4 separate regions of the Homo sapiens genome follow, and regions 1, 2 and 4 are each linked to region 3. The links are contacts of gene promoters, found by promoter capture Hi-C in blood cells and fetal thymus (Javierre and others, 2016). All regions are on one chromosome and are shown on one strand. The core of a region is centred on a gene start or on the middle of the fragment in contact, and the rest is flanking DNA. Distances in the headings are between cores, read along the strand shown.

Region 1 (2,700 bases), core at 193-2,692, 3.1 Mb before region 3:
ACATATATCATGCACAATTTTATAGAATGACAGTCCCTCTTCAAAAATTATGCAGCTATAATTTGAGCAATGTTATATTAAACATTAATAAAGAATGTACAGCAGTAGCTCACACCTGTAATCCCAGCACTTTGGGAGGCCAAGGTGTGAGGATCTTTTGAGGCCAGGAGTTTGAGACCAGGTTGGACAACATAATGAAACCGTATCTCTACAAAAAATTTTTAAAAATTAGCCAGGCATGGTGGTGTGCACATGTAGTCCCAGCTACTCAGAAGGATGAGGTGGGAACATTGCTTGAGGCCAGGAGCTCAAGCTACAGTGAGCTGTGATCACATCACTCTACTATAGCCTGGTTGACAGAGTGAGATCCTGTCTCTAAAACAGTATTTAAAAAAAAGAAAGAATGTAAAGCAAAGACACGTCATGTAAGCTTGAAATATAACAATGTTCATTCTGTCTGTGAATATAAATGCATCACATAAACACCCCAGAGGTAGTAATACATGTGAAAATTAACAGTGCTGTAAAAATGATTCCTTGATTTCAATTTTGTACAAGCTTTTGTATGGACATGTTATTTCTGTTGGGGATACATATGTACACCCCCACCCACACAACCCTAGGATATACATACATATGTAAACATCTAGGATTAGTGACTCTGTAACATTTTGAGGAACTGCCAGATTGTTTTTCAAAGTAGTTACATTTTACATTCCCACCAGCAGTGTCTGAGAGGGCTCTGATTTCTTCTTGTGCCAGTCAATACTTGTTAGTATCTAACGTTTTTATTACAGCCACCCTAAGTAGGTGTGAAGTGGTATTTCATTATGGTTTTGATTTGTATTTCCTTAATGATTAATATGTTAAACATCTTTTCATGTGCTCAGTGGCCATCTGTGTATGCTCTGTGAAGAAATGTCATTCAGAACTTTTGGCCATTTTTAAATTGGGCTGTCTTTTTATTGTTGAGCTATAAAAATTCTTGATACACGTCCCTTATTAGCTGGGAATCATGGCTCATGCCTGTAATCCCAGCAGTTTAGGAGGCCAAGGTAGGAGGACTGCTTGAGGCCAGGAGTTTGAGGACCAGTCTAGGTAACACAGGGAGACCTCATCTCTACAAAAACATTTTTTACAAAATTAGCCAGGTATGGCGGCACGTGCCTGTAGTCCTAACTACTTGGTAGGTTGAGGCTACAGTGAGCCATGATCACACCACTGCACTCAACCTGGGTGACTGGGCAAGACCCTGTCTCCAAAAACAAAAAATAAAAATCAAAGTCCTTTATCAGAATGATTTATAAATATTTTTTCTCCTTTTGAGTAGGCTTTTTTACTTTCTTGATAGTATCACTTGGAGCAAAATTCTTATTCATGCTCAAACTTCTGATTTTTAAAAATGCTCTTACTGACACAATAGAGGAAGACCAGGGTTAAAAGTTGTGATGTTGGGCTGTGCGCAGTGGCTCACGCCTATAATCCCAGCACTTTGGGAGGCCGATGCGGGTGGACCACCTGAGGTCAGGAGTTTGAGACCAGCCTGGCCAACATGGAGAAACCTCATCTCTACTAAAAATAAAAAAAATTAGCCAGGCATGGTGGAGGGCGCCTGTAATCCCAGCTACTCGGGAGGGTCAGGCAGGAGAATCACCTGAACCCAGGAGGCAGAGGTTGCAGTGAGCCGAGATAGAGCCATTGCACTCCAGCCTGGGCGCCAAAGCAAGACTCTGTCTCAAAAATAAATAAATAAATAAATAAATAGAGGCAGGACGCAGTGGCTCACACCTGTAATCTCAGCACTTTAGGAGGCTGAGACAGGCGGATCAACTGAGGTCAGGAGTTCAAGACCAGCCTGACCCATGTGGAGAAACCGTATCTCTACTAAAAATACAAAAATTAGCCGGGCATGGTGGTACATGCCTGTAATCCCAGCTACTCGAGAGGCTGAGGCAGGAGAATCTCTTAAACCCGGGAGGCAGAGGTTGCAGTCAGCCGAGATTGCACCATTGCGCTCCAGCCTCCGCAACAAGAGCGAAACTTTGTCTCAAAAAAAAAAAAAAAAACCAAAAAACAAAGAAAAGAGAAAAAAAAAGTTGTAATATTTAGAACAAGTGAGGCATTACGGTCTATACAGTTGTTCAGAAATATCTGAGCCCCAATTAGTGTTATCAAGAGACAAGAAAAAGTAATCAACTCTTCCTAGAGGTAGTGATTTCCAAAATGCAATGCTTTCCCTTTATGGGAATATTTCAAATAACTTATCCTGAAAAACGTAGCATTTTTAAGAAATTCTATAGGAAATCCTTTATAAAACAAAAGCTTTTTTAAAAAATAAAAAAGCAATATGAATTTTCATATGTAGTATTTATTATTACATGATTGGACAAAATGATTTGGATATGCTAACATAGCCTGGGATTTTCCTACTAAAATGTACTGTTATAACCTTTTTTTTAATTTGGCTTTATTTCCTTAGAACACTATCTGTCCATACACTGGGGCCTACTGGAGGGTAGAGGGTGGGAGGAGTAAGAAGATCAGGAAAAATAACTAACAGATACTAGACTTAAAATAAAACAGGACCTGTCAACCTAAGTAACAGAGAGGCTCTCTAAAATAAAAGATGTTTATATGGAAATAATGCACTGCAATGAGAATGTACATGCCAAAGTAAACTATGTGTGTTCTCCGAGACGT
Region 2 (2,700 bases), core at 114-2,613, 3.1 Mb before region 3:
GTGGTATTAATTTAATAACCATAAAAGTCTAATTACCTATTAAAAATAAGTTTTGCTGAGTGCATTGATGTGTACCTGTAGTTCCAGCTACTCAAGAGACTAAGGCAGGAAGATTGCTTGAGCCCGGGATATCAAAGCCAGGCTGCGCTGCATAAGGAGACCTACTTCTCTAAAAAAGAAAAATTTGTACGTTTCTCAACACTGCATTCTCCTACTGTGAAAGATCTCAGGAACCATCACAGTTGGAGAGGTCTTACTACCCACATTTTACAAATGAGGAAACTAAGACTTAGGATAAGTAAACAGTATGCCCAAAGACACACAGCTGTTCAAGTGGCAGTACTAGAGATTGTGTTCAATTGATTGGAAAGCCAAAGCACTTTTACCTCAAGATGAGGGACCCAGGCAGCTCTAAATTTATGTAATTCTATGCACAGAGCTTGGTCTTTAGACCACAGAATTGTTTATAAAGTATCAAAGAACTTTAAAAAGCTATCTCACTTGGGACAGAAAGAAGATACAACTGGGAAAACAAACAAAGAATCTATAGCATAGTTTATAGTAATGTACGGATTTCAGTCTTTACTTAATTTTGACCAATGTAACATGGTAATGTAAGATGTTAATAATGAGGGAAACTGGATGAGGGGAATACAGGAACTCTCTATGCTATCTTTGTTCTTAGTAAATTTTCTGTAAAAGTATTCCAAAATAAAAACTTACTTTAAAATATCTATCTCATACTTGGCTGTTGAGAATTCAGTAAGAAATACCCCTTAGCCTTCAAGTAAGTGGTTGATCCATCTTGGAACTTTCCAAGATCATTTACTTATATAGAAAAAGAAAATTCACAGCGTTCCTTGGCATTGTCTCCTGGTATCTTGTAAGCTTCATATCAGGAAATGAGTTTCAAAAGCTAAATTAAATCCTTCCCATTTCAACTGGAGTCTATTTCTCATTCATTCAACATTTTTGTCTCTTCTGCTTCATAAATAGCAGCTGTTCATCATCATTCATGCAATGTGTAATCATATGCTTGCAGATCTGGTTTTCTATGAACAGAACATCATATGGCTTATTTGAACGTTTTCAAATCAATCAGGAAGAATTTACTGAATGCCATTTACATGCAAAGCAGTAGGATAATTCCAGGGGCAATGGGGAGGAGGGGACAATAAAAAAGAAAATAAGACACAGTCTCTACCTTCAAACAGCCTAATATTCATCCAGCGTTAAGAAATAACGAATGGGGCCGGGCGTGGTGGTTCATGCCTGTAATCCCAGCACTTTGAGAGGCCGAGGCAGGTGGATCACCTGAGGTCAAGAGTTCGAGACTAGTCTGGCTAACATGGCGAAACCCCGTCTCTACTAAAAATACAAAAATTAGCCTGACGTGGTGGCTGGAGCCTGTAATCCCTGCTACTCGGGAGGCTGAGGTGAGAGAATAGCTTGAAACCGGGAGGTTGAGGTTTGCAGTGAGCTGAGATCACACCATTGCACTCCAGCCTGGGTGACAAGAGTGAAACTCTGTCTTAAAAAAAAAAAAAAGAAAAATAACGAATAGATTTAATATATATTTACTGAGTACCTACTGTGTGCCCAACACTGTTCCAGGTGCTGAGGAAACTTGACAATAAGCAAAACCAGACAATTTCCTGCTGTCATCATGCTTATTGACAAGTAGGAGAAACAAGCATTAACCAAATAAATGTGAAATTACCGTGGTAAGTGGTATGAAGGGGAAGTACAAGGTCAGGGCTGCTGCTAGCCCATATGGTATCTTTGTGCTATTTTTTAAAAGGCCATAGCAGAAAGAGCCCAGAGTAGGTAAAGCTTGGCAAGCAAACAATGACTTTGGTAAATTAGAAAAGGCACCCCCTTTTCCAGATTGATACAACCCTGCTCCGTGTGCAAGGCTTTGTGAGTGGAGCACAAATTTGATTTTAGTTTTAGTTGTCACCTCAGCTGGGAACCCTTGTTTAGATGAACAAGCTGCACAGGCATACACAGCAGCTGGACAAAGTTTCCATGGACGTGTGTAATAAAGTGAGACATGGGAGGGTTTCCCTGAGAAACAGACAGAAGAGTAGAACTAAAAGAAGAATGGGAGTTAACCAGTCTCCCATTAAGAAGAGAAGGAGAAACATTCTAGGGAGTGATAACAGCATGTGCAAAAGTCCTGGCGCAGGAATATGAGAAGAGTACAAACGCCATTGGTACACTGAAAGGTCAGTGCTGGTGAAGGACTGAAAAGAGAAGGTGACAAAAGTGTGGTAACAGAGAAGGCTAGAAAAGAAGGTAAGGGGCCAGATCGTGGAGGATCTTATAGACCTTCTTAAGACAAGTCTATTAACATGTATCTCCTGTTGATAAGACTTATACAGAAGGAATTAGAATGGCATTATTTTAACTCTGTTTGTATTTATTTCACTTATATACAGTGAAATGCACAGATCTCAAGTATATAGTTCCATGTGTTTTGACACAGGCATACACCCATATAATCCACACACCATCAAGATACAGATGGAGCTTTCCAACACCTCAGAAAGTTTTCTCATGCCTCTTCCCAGTCAAACCTCTCCTCTCTTTCTCCCCAGGCAGCCACTATTCTGTTTTGCCTATATTTGCATATTAGTTTTGCCTATTGTAGAACTTCATATAAATAGAATAATTCAGTATGTTCTCTTTTGTATCTGG
Region 3 (2,700 bases), core at 121-2,620:
CTGTCAAGGGGTAAAGAAAAACACTCCTTCGCTATCAGGGAAGGGAGAAAAAGAGAAAAGGAAGAGGAGGAGGGACTGAACTTTTCAGAGAAACTGCAAGTACTTGTTACCCTCTGGGCCAGTTCTCCACCTACAGGTTGGATAAGATCTCCTCCCCCCACCCAAACCCCACCCTCAACCCCACTTGCCCCTATTTTGGGACAAATTAGACCCTCCAATAGGAGAATAAAAGTTTTATCTAGCCGCCCCCACCCCAAAATGGGGCTGACGGGAGTGAGCAGCTGCCTGGCTGGCAGGGAATGGATTCTCCTCTCTTCCCTTTCGCATCATGTGCTTTTCAGGCGCCATGTTGGGCTCCTAACAGGCGGCTGCTCCACTCGGGGCCAAATCCCTATTCCCACCCACCAACAGCTCGCTCCCAGGTCCCCCTTCACCTCCTTCCAACCCACAGAACACAATTACCAAAAAGGGTGCTTGGGGAAAATGGGAGACCCACTCTCCCACTTCCCAGGGAATTAAAATGGCTTATGTTAACTCTTACTTCCCCAAACCACAAACTGCCTTTAAGTCTCCCCCACCCCAAAGGGCTCTATTCAAAGCGTGTGTGTGTCGGGATATACAATGCGGTGGCCTAAAAAGGGAGTTGGAAAGCGGAAGTGGGACTCCACCCTTTATCCTCCCCACTCCCTCCCCCCCAGAGGCCCATGCTCGAAGCCTGGGCCAAAGACCGAGCCTGAGTTGGAGGGGGGTGGGGGGGTTGGAGAGAAGGAACACTGTCCCCCTTGGGATGGAAGCGAGACCTGGGATGAGGCTGACACTAAAATCAGGGAGTATTAGAAGTAATAGGAGGCTGCGGGGTGTATAAAAACCTTGGCGGTTTGGGCCTCGATGAGAGAGACGATCTCCTTGGCGAAGGGCAGGTTCTCCTCGGCTAGAATGGTCAGCATATTGATGTGCGGCTTGCTATTGAAGGTCAGGTCTTCGAGCGATGACTGATAATCCCGACAGGCGTCCTCCCGGGCCCCCGCAGCACCGGCCTCGGCCGGCGTCTGCTCTGACATTGCGCCGCGGCCCCCCTCCGAGGTCCGCTGCAGCTGAAGCTGAAGCCGCTCTGGATACCCCGCCTCCCTTCCGACTCCTCTTCCTCTCCCCGGCTCTCTCGCGGCTCCGGCTTCACCACATGCTGACCGCGGAGGGGGGATGGGGGACGACACAGGGGGAACCTCGGGTATGAAACGCCGCCGTCTCGCGGGTGATCTCCGTCCACTTCCAGCCGCCACAGAAGCTTCTTTCTCCACAGACACAAAATGGCGGCGGCAGTGGCGGCTCCAGCTCCGAAAATGTCTGTGTTCCCAACCGCTGCGTCGTGCGAAATGAACTAGGGGAGGGGAAATGTGCGGTAAAAGGGCGGGGCCACTGATAAAACCAGGCGTGATTGGCTGTCCCGGCAACGTCACGAGCCCCGCCCCCGGCCCTTCCGCAGGACGCCCTGGCACCGCCTTCTTCTCCGGCCTCTACCCGGACTTTCGCAACATCTACTGCTCGGAGGCGCACTGGAAAAGACGGCCCTTCTCATTGGCCGATTCATAAGGGACTGTTCGGTCATTTGTTACCATAACAACCCATTCAGGGAAGCCAATAGGCCTGGGAAGGCAGTTCCCGCGGCCCAACCCAACCACTTTGAGAAGAAGACTCAGCCGTCCCCTCTTCGTCCCTCCCTCTAGCTTCCCAGCCACTGAGCGGGCCTGTCAATCATCTTTCCTCCCGCCTGCCCCGTAGCTGCTACCGACGGTGGGGGTTGGAGGGAGCGGGGGTTGGAGGGAGCGGAGGCTTTCTGCCGCCGCACCCCCTCTCCCTTAGCGTCTCAGGTGCTCTGGAGAGCCAGGGCGGGTCCAGCTGCCCCTCTGGGAACTGGGAAGTGGGAGGGAGGTGCCCAATTTACCCGGAACTTCGGAAAGCACTGCTGGAGAGTTTCTTCCAGCACGCCGCTTCCCACACCCACAAAAATACCTAGGCGAGCTTGCCTGACTTGAATCCCCAGGAAAATGCCTTTTATTTAGAGATTAAGTGTGAAAGGCTTTTTCCTTGGGGGTTTGGAGGAGCTCTTTAAGGAGCCCACTATGAGCTCTAGGAAGAGTTTTTCACAACAGCCACACCCAGCTGGACCGTAATATCTCCACTGTGAATCTGCATTTCAGAACCTCCTTAGCATACACTATTTGGGGCACGTAGGAAAACACACACGCGCATGCACTTTTGTTTTAAACTTGTGGGGCTGTCTTCCCAGGTTGGAAATGATGCTCGTAAAACACACAAAGCTTTCAAATAGTTCACCGTGGAGCTGCGACATAACACAAACCAAACGTAATTTTTTCATTGAGTAGCGATATTGACCTAAATATAAGCTTTTAAAATGTGTCAATTACGGGCTGGGCGCGGTGGCTCACGCCTGTAATCCCAGCACTTTGGGAGGCCGAGGCGGGCGGATCACGAGATCAAGAGATCGAGACCACCCTGGCCAACATGGTGAAACCCCGTCTCTACTAAAAATACAAAAATTAGCTGGGCGTGGTGGCGTGCGCCTATAGTAGTCCCAGCTACTCGGGAGGCAGAGGCAGGAGAACCGCTTGAACCCGGGAGGTGGAGGTTGCAGTGAGCCGAGATCACGCCACTGTACTCCAGGCTGGTGACAGCGAGAGT
Region 4 (2,700 bases), core at 160-2,659, 5.0 Mb after region 3:
ACTCCCCCTTACTTTCTTGCAAGCTTAGCTATGTACTTAAAGTGATGTTTGTTATATTTTAACAAGCATTTCTAGCTGTTTTGTAGCAGGACACTTTTCAGGTTATCTCGTCTGCTGTGCTGCAGATGTAAAAGTCAGATCAAAGGTTCTGCAAGGGCCACCTACCTAGACCCCTTCACCCCACCCAACCTGCCTTCTCTATCAGGCAATGGGGAAGGCTCTGCCATCCAGACTCCAGCTACATGTCTCACTACCTCTGTGACTTTGCACAAGTCACCAAACTTCTCCAAGTCTCCTTTTCCTCATCTATGAGATTGAAATGAACCGTATCATCTTTGTAGGTTTCTTGTGAGCATCAGAAGACAAAACATACAGGAAAATAATCTCAAGTGTAGCAGTAGCCACAGATGTTAGTCACTGTCAGATCCTAGCAACCCGTCAAGCCCAGCTTGATGAGGCCTCTAAGAAACTCTTTCTTCTTAGAGGCCTCATCTGTCCTCTCTAACTGGAGAAGATCTTTCCTTCCTCTGGTTTCTCACTGCTCTCAAGCCAAACCTTGTAGACATTTTCAAAAGCTGCTCCGACCAGAGTTTCTCGTATCCAAGTCTGTCACCCTCACCAGGCTGCGATCCTCTCAATGGAGGAGACTCCGTTTGCTTCATGCCCATGCCCCCAGTTCCCAGCCTGGGCTTGGTGCAGAGCAGGACGTCAGTAAAGTCATGTGAACGACTGTAAATTATCCCTGGTCTGGAGTGCTCACAGTCTGGCAAGGGAGGCAGACAGACAGTGATAACATGTGACAGAGGGATGTACCAAGACTGTGGGAGCCCAGCGAGGCCCTAGCCCAGCCTGGTGGAGGGCATGGGAGTACTGAGAGTGATCAGGAAAGGCATCCTGAGGGAAGTAACACTAGAACAGAGACTTACAAGGTAAGCAGGAGCTGTCCAGGCAGAGCAGAGAAAGAGAACGTGTTTTAATTTCCATACTACACTGACAGAGAAGCGTTTATGGTTAGAAAGCACAGTGTGTGCAAAAGCCCAGAGCAGCCATGAGGCAGCCCAGCCTACTTGGGGAACGTGAGTGGCTCAGTGTGCTTGAGGCACATGATGGACCTGGGGAGGTGATGGGAGACAGCCAGGCACCAAATGACGGGGACTGCCACCAAGCTGTGGTATGGCCCGCTGGAAGGCCCACACTGGTACCTTTGTCAGAGTGGGGCAAGGCCCAAGTAGGGGACTGTCGCTCACCTTGATGGCCTCCATGACAGGCTCATACAGATCCGGGAAGCCCGGGAACCGGAACACCATGCAGTGGACCAGCTCCGCCAGCTGCTCCAGGCAGCTGGTCCCCGAGTTCGAGTCCTCCTTGACCAGAGAGGCCACCATGGGGGGGATGTGAGGGAGGAGCTGTGGGAGCAGAGCTGCGTCAGGCTCAGCACCAACCCGCCCACCTGAGACACGGGGCTGTGGTCCCTGCTGACAGCACGCAACACTCTCTGAGGTAGGGAGGCTTGCCCACCTGACCACTGTCCCCTGACCCAGATGGGGCTCTGAGCTCTGCAGGCAGGTGACTCCTTTTCCCAACAATATGATCTAAGACACCCTGCCTCAGTTTCTTCATCTGCAAAATAGGATGACTACTCCTCTCCTCACAGTCAAAGGGAGGCCAGAGCCCACGATCCAGCTGCTTGGCCTCAGCCAAGTGACCTGCCCCAAGAGCCCAGGGTCAGCAGGCAGGGCCCTTACCAGGGGCAGTAGGCAGGGCCCTTACCAGGGGCAGCAGGCAGGGGCCTCACCAGGGGCAGCAGGCAGGGGACCTTACCAGGTGGAAGGCTTCGTGGGAGTGCTGGAAGGTCAGGAGCATGTACTTGAGCACAGACAAGGCAGCTCCCCGGACGATGGGGTACAGCAGCTTAGAGAAAACCTACAAGAGAGTCCCTGGTCAGGAGTCCCCAGGCTTGAGCTGCTGAGGCCAAGTAGAATCACAAGCCTGAGAGGGGACTCAGAGACACCCTAGAGTTCAAACCCATGCAGAGGGATCAACACTGAGGTGCTCACAGACCCAGATGGACAGACAGATGGTGAGATGGACAGCAACATAGATATCTGAGGAATGGATGGACACACCAAAAGTCAGACACACATACTTGGATGAGTAGTCAGGGAAACTAATGGGGAGAATCTGAGGCCCAGAGAGGGGCAGTGAATTCGCCCAGGTCACACAGCGAGCTTGGTGGGTAGGCCCAATGCTCTGACCTCCCAGACCTGCACCGCCCCTGGCAAGAGCCTAGTACAAAAGGCTGTAACTCTGGGCTAGGACAGGGGCACCAACCTTCTCAATTTTGGTGAGCGAAACCTCGATCAAGATGCTGAACTTCTTAACAGCAGCCAGGCCCTTCAGCAGTGCAATGATCCACTTGTCAATATTCTTCCCCAGGGGCCAGGACACCCAGTCAATCATCCTGGTGAGGGGAGTGACAGTGACACAGGGACAAGGGACACCCAAAATGCTGGGGTGAGGGCAGCCCAGGGGCTATCCGTAATGTCCTGGGTTCCCACATTGACTCACACCTGCAAAGGGCAGCCCCGGGGTCTGTGGGCTGAACCAGACATGGCTGGGAAATGCACAAGCCCAGCACAGCCACCTGCCAGACACTGAGGCTCCCAGCCCACCAAGAAGGGAGCCAGGCCCTCTCAGCAC

What was found. Contacts are between HindIII fragments. The CHiCAGO score rates a contact against its expected background, and 5 or more counts as called.
Region 1: a contact is called between a fragment that was not itself captured here and the fragment with the promoter of PCF11 in region 3, in 1 of 17 cell types (M0 macrophages). The highest score is 7.0, in M0 macrophages.
Region 2: a contact is called between a fragment that was not itself captured here and the fragment with the promoter of PCF11 in region 3, in 6 of 17 cell types (fetal thymus, erythroblasts, total CD4 T cells and 3 more). The highest score is 18.7, in fetal thymus.
Region 4: a contact is called between a fragment that was not itself captured here and the fragment with the promoter of PCF11 in region 3, in 1 of 17 cell types (non-activated CD4 T cells). The highest score is 6.4, in non-activated CD4 T cells.

The regions. Positions count from the first base shown.
Region 1 is chr11:86,257,922-86,260,621 of GRCh38, reverse strand. The region is part of intron 6 of EED (embryonic ectoderm development); the gene reads right to left. Among named protein-coding and RNA genes, the nearest start is that of EED, 15 kb to the right of the region's middle. The HindIII fragment of the contact is 1,764 bases long and covers 561-2,324 here.
Region 2 is chr11:86,239,844-86,242,543 of GRCh38, reverse strand. No RefSeq gene overlaps it. Among named protein-coding and RNA genes, the nearest start is that of EED, 3.6 kb to the left of the region's middle. The HindIII fragment of the contact is 945 bases long and covers 891-1,835 here.
Region 3 is chr11:83,155,801-83,158,500 of GRCh38, reverse strand. It overlaps PCF11 (PCF11 cleavage and polyadenylation factor subunit), which reads right to left and starts at 1,370. Exons shown (of 16, transcript NM_001346413.3): 1 at 870-1,370. The coding sequence starts at 1,061. RefSeq lists silencers at 205-264, 1,715-1,794 and enhancers at 1,065-1,314, 611-1,400, 1,465-1,514. The HindIII fragment of the contact is 1,033 bases long and covers 1,288-2,320 here.
Region 4 is chr11:78,199,356-78,202,055 of GRCh38, reverse strand. USP35 (ubiquitin specific peptidase 35) reads right to left here. Exons shown (of 11, transcript NM_020798.4): 4 at 2,332-2,461; 5 at 1,822-1,923; 6 at 1,248-1,406. Among named protein-coding and RNA genes, the nearest start is that of USP35, 12 kb to the right of the region's middle. The HindIII fragment of the contact is 2,768 bases long and covers 26-2,700 here.